Linked DNA regions of Homo sapiens: regions 1 and 3 are each linked to region 2. The links are contacts of gene promoters, found by promoter capture Hi-C in human tissues and cell types (Jung and others, 2019). All regions are on one chromosome and are shown on one strand. The core of a region is centred on a gene start or on the middle of the fragment in contact, and the rest is flanking DNA. Distances in the headings are between cores, read along the strand shown.

Evidence for each region. The method cuts DNA at HindIII sites, captures the fragments that hold promoters and counts their contacts. A contact is called where the count stands out against the background at its distance.
Region 1: a contact is called between a fragment that was not itself captured here and the fragment with the promoter of ASTN2 in region 2, in 3 of the 25 tissues and cell types used here (dorsolateral prefrontal cortex, heart left ventricle and mesendoderm cells).
Region 3: a fragment that was not itself captured here is called in contact with the fragment with the promoter of ASTN2 in region 2 in 2 of the 25 tissues and cell types used here (mesendoderm cells and thymus).

Annotation. Positions count from the first base shown.
Region 1 is chr9:117,170,125-117,172,895 of GRCh38, forward strand. The region is part of intron 3 of ASTN2 (astrotactin 2); the gene reads right to left. Among named protein-coding and RNA genes, the nearest start is that of SNORA70C, 9.7 kb to the right of the region's middle. The HindIII fragment of the contact is 7,792 bases long and covers 1-2,771 here.
Region 2 is chr9:117,413,608-117,416,307 of GRCh38, forward strand. It overlaps ASTN2 (astrotactin 2), which reads right to left and starts at 1,450. Exons shown (of 23, transcript NM_001365068.1): 1 at 890-1,450. The coding sequence starts at 1,331. The HindIII fragment of the contact is 9,596 bases long and covers 1-2,700 here.
Region 3 is chr9:117,188,767-117,191,466 of GRCh38, forward strand. All of the region lies in intron 3 of ASTN2 (astrotactin 2), which reads right to left. Among named protein-coding and RNA genes, the nearest start is that of SNORA70C, 8.9 kb to the left of the region's middle. The HindIII fragment of the contact is 6,473 bases long and covers 1-2,700 here.

The sequences.
Region 1 (2,771 bases), core at 5-2,504, 240 kb before region 2:
ATAATCATTAAATAGCAAGTATTTAATAGTAATAAGATTCAGTTTGGCACATAGTAGGCACTAAATAAATCTCATACTTCCTTTCCTTTGCTTGAGAGTCTTAATTCAATTTCAATTGCATCCACCTTCCAGCCACTCCAAATACAATGTGCTTGTATATCATTGACATCCTCTGTTTCCCATTGTGTGTCTCATCCTTATATGACCTCAGTTGCAATCTTCTTCAGAACTTATCTATTAATTAATGTATTCATCCATTAATATTGATTGAGCACCTGCTAGGTGACAACACTGATGAAGGCACTAGGGATTCAATGAAGAAGGAAGACAAAATTTCTACCTGCATGAAGCATGCTTTCTAATGGGGCAGAGAGCAATAACTGCATCAATAAGTAAAATATAAGCTTTGTCAGATGATGCTAAACACTAAAGAGAAAGATCAGGCAGGAAAAAGAAGCATGAATTGCTGGAGTGAGTGCTATTTAAAATGAGAAGGCCTGGGGAGACCTTATGGGGAAAGTAACATGTATGCAGAGACTGAAGAGGTCACAAGCAGCCAGGTAGGTATTTAAGAGAAGAGTGTTCCAACAGAGAAGACAGCAGATGAAACACCTTGAGGCAGAAGCAGGCTTGGCCGTATCCCATTTCTCATTTTAGTCTTCAGAAAAGAGGCAGGGAGCAGAGTGATTTGATTTTGCAAAACAACTCTGCTTTTCCCACATACTAATATAAGCAAGCCATACCTTGCCAGGTATCGTATCCATTGTCCACATTAGGTTCCACAAATACATGTACCAAGAGACAGATGCCTAGATGTGTTCTGCCCCTTCTTTATGTGACAGGGCAGCATGGTTCTAGGCTGGGCTCAAAGTTGCTGGGAACCGCATCATTACCACCAACCATGCCATCCTGAGATCCTGAGCTCTCCAAGGATGAGAGCTCTCAGCGACATCCCATAGAATTTGGACTAACTTCTCAGGATGCTAGCACTTTGCAGGAGGAATTTAAATAAAACTAGAAACAAACAAAGGCAAAAGAAAAAAAGAAAAGAAAAGAAAAAATATTACGAGGAAGCACAGAATAGAAATATTCTCCTTTGCCCAACTAACTGAAACATTTGCAGGTATGCAATGCCTCACAGAGTACAGGTACAGGGTTAGTGTCATGTCCAAAGAGTAAAGGCTCCAGAGAAAGCCCTGCCTGCATGGGTTCCTGGCCTAGCTGTGTGACTGCAGAAGGGTTGTTTAACCTCTCTGTGGATGAATCTATAAAATGAAACTAATAACAGTACTTTTCTCAAAGCACTGGTGTTAATGTAAAATGAGTTATTTGAGTAAATGTCTAACCTAGTACCTGGTATGGAGTAATCTATTTGATATGGTTTGGCTGTGTCCCCACCCAAATCTCATATTGAATCATAATCCCCATGTGTCAATGGAGGGACCTGGTGGGAAGTGACTGGATCATGGGATCGGTTTCCCCCATGCTGTTCTCGTGATAGTGAGTGAGATCTCATGAGATCTGATGGTTTTACAAGGGGCTCTTCCCCCTTTGCTCCTTCTTCTCTCTCCTACTGCCTTGTGAAGAAGGTGCTTGCTCCTTCTTCACCTTCGGCCATAATTGTAAGTTTAAGTTTCCTGAGGCCTCCCCAGCCATGTGGAACTGTGACTCAATTAAACCTCTTTCCTTTATAAATTACCGAGCCTTGGGCACTTTTTATAGCAGTGTGAAAATGAACTAATACACTATCTAAACATTAGTGTTTAAAAGAATGACTATATACATTTTAGTAAATTCATATAAGGGGACACTATATCGTAATTAAAAAAAATTATCAATACTTGCAACAACATGGATGAATCTCAAACATGATGTTTTGAGTGAAAAGAAGGCAGACACAAAATAACGCATCTGTAGGATCGCATATCTATGAAGCACAGGAAATATCAATTTATGATCTAAGAAGCCAGAGTACTGTTTACTTTTTATGGGTGGACATGGTCTAGGAAGGTACAAAAAAATGAAACATAAGGGGTGCTAGAATTATTCTATCATAAGGCTGCCCAGCAGAACTTTCTGTTACAATGACATTGTTCATATTCTATGTTGTGTGATACAGTAGGTACTGTAGAATAGGCATATGCTGCCACCGGGTCCTTAGAATGTGGCTTGTTTGACCAAAGAACTGGACTTTTAAGTTTAATTAATTTTCATTAATTTTAATTTCAAAGGCCACTGTATCGGGAGGCACAGATCTATATGTTGGTCTGGGTGGTGGTTACTTGAGTATAGGCATACATAAAGAAAACCAAGAATACATTTAAGTCTAGTGCAATTTATATGCACTGCATATACTTTATTGAGTGTTACCTTTTAAAAATTAGCTATGACTATTAATCTACATGCATCACCTCATACATTCCTCACACACTTGAGGTAATATAGAGAGGAAAGTCCCCATTGTCCCCATTTGTGAACTGGTTCAGCTGTGGCTCAGAGAGGTGGATGTGATCTGGGAATGGTCACGTGGCTTGTGAATCCCAGAGTGGGTAACATTTCTATCCAAGTTTTCTCTCACGAATGGGAAAAAGGCAGTGTAAAATAACCTGCTGAGATGATTTCATTCAACAATTCATTCATCAAGGGCATACTGTTTGAGTGCCAGATGCTGTTTTAGATGCTTAAAAGAAAACACTGGACAAAAGGGAAAGTTCTGGTTTCCATGGAGCTTTCATTAGGAATCTTTGCTCATCCCACACTTTGGCCACCCC
Region 2 (2,700 bases), core at 200-2,699:
CCGACTCCTCCGGGATTCGCGCAGGGAACCAGCAGGCAGCAAGCTGCTGGCGAACTTTTCTGATTAACTTTTCCGTTGGAGCCCCCCACCCACACCCATCTCCTCTCCTCTCCTTTTTCTTGCCTTTAAGTAATTATTATTAGCCCAGGGAGTGAGCTGCAAGGACAAACCGGCTCTCTGCCTGGAGGTGGGTAGAAAGGGAAGGCGGTAACGGGGGTAGAGGGAGGCTCTAAACGTGGAGACCTCGGAGTCGGAATCCCAGTTCTCAGCAACCACTCAAGTCTCTCCAGCCCTATTTCACAGATGGCCAGAACTGAGGCTCAGAGAAGGGAAGCGACTTGGCCAAGGTCACTCAGCCCATGCGGAAGCCACGCTTTTGCGGGTTGAGCGATTCCACACGGAACTACTCCATTCCTACTCTCATGAAAATCCATCTGGAAGGGCAGAACCCGCAACTCCGAGGCGAGAGCGAGGGGGCGGTGACGGCGGGTGGCCAGTGACGGTACCCGGAGAAGTGGGAGGCTCGACCTGAAACTGGCTTAGGATCTGGGATGCTCCGGCCCCTAGCCAGAGCACCTTCAGTGAATGGGGTCTCCGGCTTCCGGGATGGATCAAGCAGAGCTCCAGGTCGGGACTGAGAGGCAGAGGGGCAGGTTCCCACTGCGGGAGGGTTGGCACGCCCCCAGGCTCCCGCCGCGCGCTCTCCAGGACCTCCTCCCACATGCTCGTTTCCAACCACCTGTGCGACCTCTGGGCCCCTCCTCTACCCTCTGCCAACCCCACTCGGGGCAGCCCCGGGCAGGGATCCCCAGGGCGCCCCCACCCGTCCGGCATGACGCAGGGGCTCGGGGTTCCTTGGGATCTAGCGCGTGCCGGCGCCCAGCCTTACCCAGGGTGAAGAAGGGCAGCTCGGTGTTGTCCAGGTCGTCCTGCACCGCGATGCGCCCCGGCAGCTCGTTACGCACAAAGAGCAGGAGGCGCGACTCGGCGGCGGTGCCGGCAGAGCCAGGAGAGCCCGGGGACGCGGCGGCGGCGGCGGCTCCGGCCCCGGTCCCAGCCCCGGCCCCGGCGCGGGCGCCGCTCCAGCCGATGTCGCTCTCCCGCAGGGCGGGCAGTGTGGACACCGTGACGGTCTTCAGCCGGCACGGGCTGTCGGGCTCCCGCGAGGCAGCGGCGGTGGCGCCGGCCAGCAGCGGCGGCGGCGGCAGCAGGAGCAGGAACAGCAGCAGCAGCGGCAGCAGTGGCGGCGGCCCCGGGTGGAAGCAGAGCCTCGGCCGCCCCCGGAGCCCCGAGCCGGGGCCGGGGCTGAGCCGGGCGCCGGCGGCGGCCATGGCGGGAGGGGCTGCGGTGCTGCGGGCGGCGGCGGCGGTGGCGGCGGTGGCGAAGGAGGAAGAGGAGGCAGCTGCGGAGACGGCGGACGCCGAAGCGAACCAGGACGCCCGAGCTAAGGAGCGGAGAGAGCCGCTCGCCAGCAGCCCCCAGCTCCGGGCTCCGCCTCCCGATCGGCCCTGGACCGCCCCCCCGCGCCGCCTCCCGGGGCCCAGCCGCCCGTCCCCGATCTCCGGCTCCCCCCGCAGACCCCGAGCGTTTCGGAGGCTCCGCCCGGCCTCGTGCAAGTCCCAGTGGCTCCCTCCCCTTTCCCAAGATCCCCCAATTCCGCCCTCACAGCATTCTTTAGCCACAACACCCCTCCCTAAACTCCCCAAATTCCTAATACTTAGGGCCCCCTCGGGCCCCCCCAAGCCCCCCTGACTCAACCCAGTTCTCCTGGCTTCACCCCACCTTCGGCTCAACCCAGAGGCTGCACCTGGGGGCGCGCCTTGGCCCAGCCTTGCTCAAGGCCCCGCCTTCTTGGGGATAGGGAGCCCCCTGGATAGCCAAGACTTAACTTTGTCTCCCCTCAGGCCCAAGAACAAGTCCTTTCTCCAATCTCCTACCCTTTTCTAGTCTCTGAAATAACTTCCTGTAGCCTCAGAGCCCCCTTCCCACCCACTTGGCCACAACTCCTGCATTCATTCTCCCACTGCCCGCAAACCTTCCTCTCCCCTCCATCCAGGCCTTGTGCTAGCACTAATTGCTAATGGACAGAGGGGCGTCGAACTCCACCGTCTAACGCCGACCCCACAACTGACTGAAGCCGGGCTGTTCTGGCCCCCTAGCTGCCGCCCTGCAAGCCAGCCCACTCACGCTTTTTTATTTTGGATCCCTGCTCCCAGCTTGGAGCAGCTCTACTTGGCTGCTTCTGCTCTCTGTGTGAAATTCCTGAAAAGGGTGTGAGGTAGAGACCTACTATTCTGTCTGTCCTTGGCTCCCGGGTCTTTTAGATCCTCTGCCCAAGTCCCAGAGAACGGGAGTGCTCACCAATTCTTCACCTGCAGTCTTTCTAGACTCAAGTTGAGCTAGGTCCTCAGATTCAGCACCCTTTGGTCTTGGGCTGACTCTGTCTCTGACCCACATACCTGAGACCCTCCAGGGAGCGGACACCTCTGCATGGGTCAAGTGCCGTGCAGCCCCTTCCCCACTCCCCTACTTTTCTTCATCTTCCCTGTCTCTGTTTTCTGTTTCATCTCTCCATTCATTTCCTTCCTTCTCATCTTGACTTTAATCTTACAAATGCTTCTTTCCTATAATTTGTGAGCAACTTCTCATCTCTGTCTAGCTTACCCATCTGCACCTTTTGTGCTGTCTCTATGCATTCAC
Region 3 (2,700 bases), core at 67-2,566, 220 kb before region 2:
GACTTGGAAATGCCAAGGAATAATGATTCTATGGGCTACTGACTGTAAAAGCATCCACATTTTGAGAGTCCCATGGGAGCCAGGTACCCGTGGGAATTATCTATTTGCAGGCAGGTCGGTGGCCTCTCTAACCATGCTCAGTGGGCAGCACTACATCTACCTGAGCATCAGTGAGTGCCCTTTCCCCAGAGCGTGGAGTCTGAGAATGGCCGTCCATTCTCACCAGGACTTCATAATTCTAGTGTCCCCTCCTGTCCCCACCTGGGACAGTGGGTAGAAGGTCCTGTCTGCCAGACATCCTAACCTCCCAGATAGGAGACTCCTACATCCTGAACAATGTCTTATAAAAGGACACAAAAAAGGTGAGGATTGTAAGCTGTAGAGAAAGAAAACAACGGCACTTAAAAGTGCTCAGGAGATAGGATCAGGAGAACTGCTGTTTACCCACTACCCACTAGGCAGCAAATTAGTCCCTTCCAGTCAGGGATATATTCATTTGCCCATTCACCCATTCATTTTAAACATATTTAGCAATCTCCTATGATGAGTCAAGACAAAGGCATGGGCTGGAACATGGATAGAAAGGAACTCCTTCAGAAGTGGTGTGGTTGAAACGTTAAGATGGCATTGACTAGAAACAGAATGTCCACATCAAAGCCACCATTCCCCACAAACGCTGCATCCCCCATACACCCAGTATTAACTTGCTGTGTAACTTCAGATACCTCTCTCCCCTCCCTGGGTCTCTGTTGAATGAAATGAATATTTCAGACAACATGTCAATAATAGCTTCCATTTCTTGAGTCAAAACACTGTGCTATTTTATATATATGATTTCCTTAATTCTTACAAGAATACTGCAAAACAAGTAATCCCATTTTAGAGGTGAGGAGGTTGAATCTCAAAAGTATTAGTAAGGTGAAACTGGACCCCGGTGTGTCTGGTTCAAGAGTTGGGCATCTTAACTACTTTATCCTCTGCTGTCAAAGTTCTTAAAGGTCTCTTGGTCTCTGATCTGCTGCCAGCCTCTGCCTGGCTGGTAAAACAAAACTCAAGGAGTTGAAAGAGAGTGGTATCCTTTCCTAGACTAATCTGTGCATCCCTACCCTTATACTAATGGAGAGTGAAGATACATACCTTCTAGAAAGTCTTAAAGATCCTAAGGCCTCCCGCTCTTGCTACACAAAATAGGAAGTGAATCCATTGTTCCTGTATACTCTGGGTTCCCACTGCTCAGATCATAAGGGCTGTCTCAATTTCTCCTTCCTCTGGGAGATGTGAGTTCCAATCTCTCAGGAAGGAGGGAGAATTTAGGTTAAGGAACTTAATCAGGTGGTGTTCCTGATGAAGTAGAGAGAGCAGCCCTTCCAAAGCAGTTGCTACCACTCAGCTCCTGCTAAGTGCTGGAAGGCACAAGAATGGGCCTAAGGTTTTGAGATCCTTCAGTCACCAAGTGAGGCAGAAATGTGAATTTCTATGTGAAATTTTCCAATTTATATATATTAACAACTGAATTCAAAAATATACCCTGTAGGCAAGCAAAAACAAAACAAAACAAAACATTATGTAGGGGCTAAATTCTGCCTGTGAGTTTCCATAGTACAATCTCTATTCTCTGCTCTCGTTAGTATCCTCGCTTCTGAGTTGCAACTCTATGTCCAAATCACTCCTTCTCAGTTTGGCCCTAACTGTTTACCACCTTTGCAAAAATTCATTCCCCCATTTTCCAATGGCTTTTCATGTCACTCACAGGAAGAGTCAGTGTCCCTTTCTATCAGGCTCTACATGACTTTCTTACCACTGCTCCTATAACCCAATTTATTCTAGTGCTCTCTCTCTCAATGCTACTCCTCCCTATTCCTCTAGTGCTCCAATCACACTGGTGCCAGGGACCTTTATACCTGCTGTTCCCTCTGCCCAAAAAGCTGTTTCCTCAAATATTCAAATGGCTTGCCTCTTCATCTCCTGTAGATCAGTTTTCATGTGTTATCTGATCATTAAGACCTTTCCTGAGGGCCCTAATTCCCTCCTTTGTTTTCTTTCTCCCCCATTGCAATTATTATCATTCATTATTATATATCTAATATATACATATATTTTGTTCATTTGCTTATAGTCTTTCTGTGCTAGAAAGAAACTGCTATAGAAATTGACTTGCATATATCTTATTTATTGCTTTATCTTCAGTGCCTTAAATAGTTCCTGACACACAGTAGGTACTTAATTAAAGCTTGTTGAATTAATGAATGAAAAATAGATGAATAAATGTTACCTTATTTAACAAATGTGTATGGAGACTTCCCAACAGATATTGAGCTAAACATGTATCAAGAACTTTAAAACATTCAGACCATTTGACCCAATAATTCCACTCCTGGGAATATACCCTGAGGAAATAACACAGAATAGTGAAAATGAATTTAAGACTAAAAATGGTTGTTGATGTTGAATACAAAATAGCAAAAAAAAAAAAAAAAAAGCTGCTAAAATGTCCATCAATAAATACATTATGAAGCAGTCATGAGATAGAATTACATGCATGTTGAAATACTTATTGTATAATATTAAATAAAAATGCAAGATAGAAAACAATAATTTTTCACTTTCAATATATAAAAGGGAAAAGACAGAAAAAATTAGTAAAAAGTTACTGTGGCTATTCAATGGGGCATACAAAAAATTGCTAATTTATACTTTACT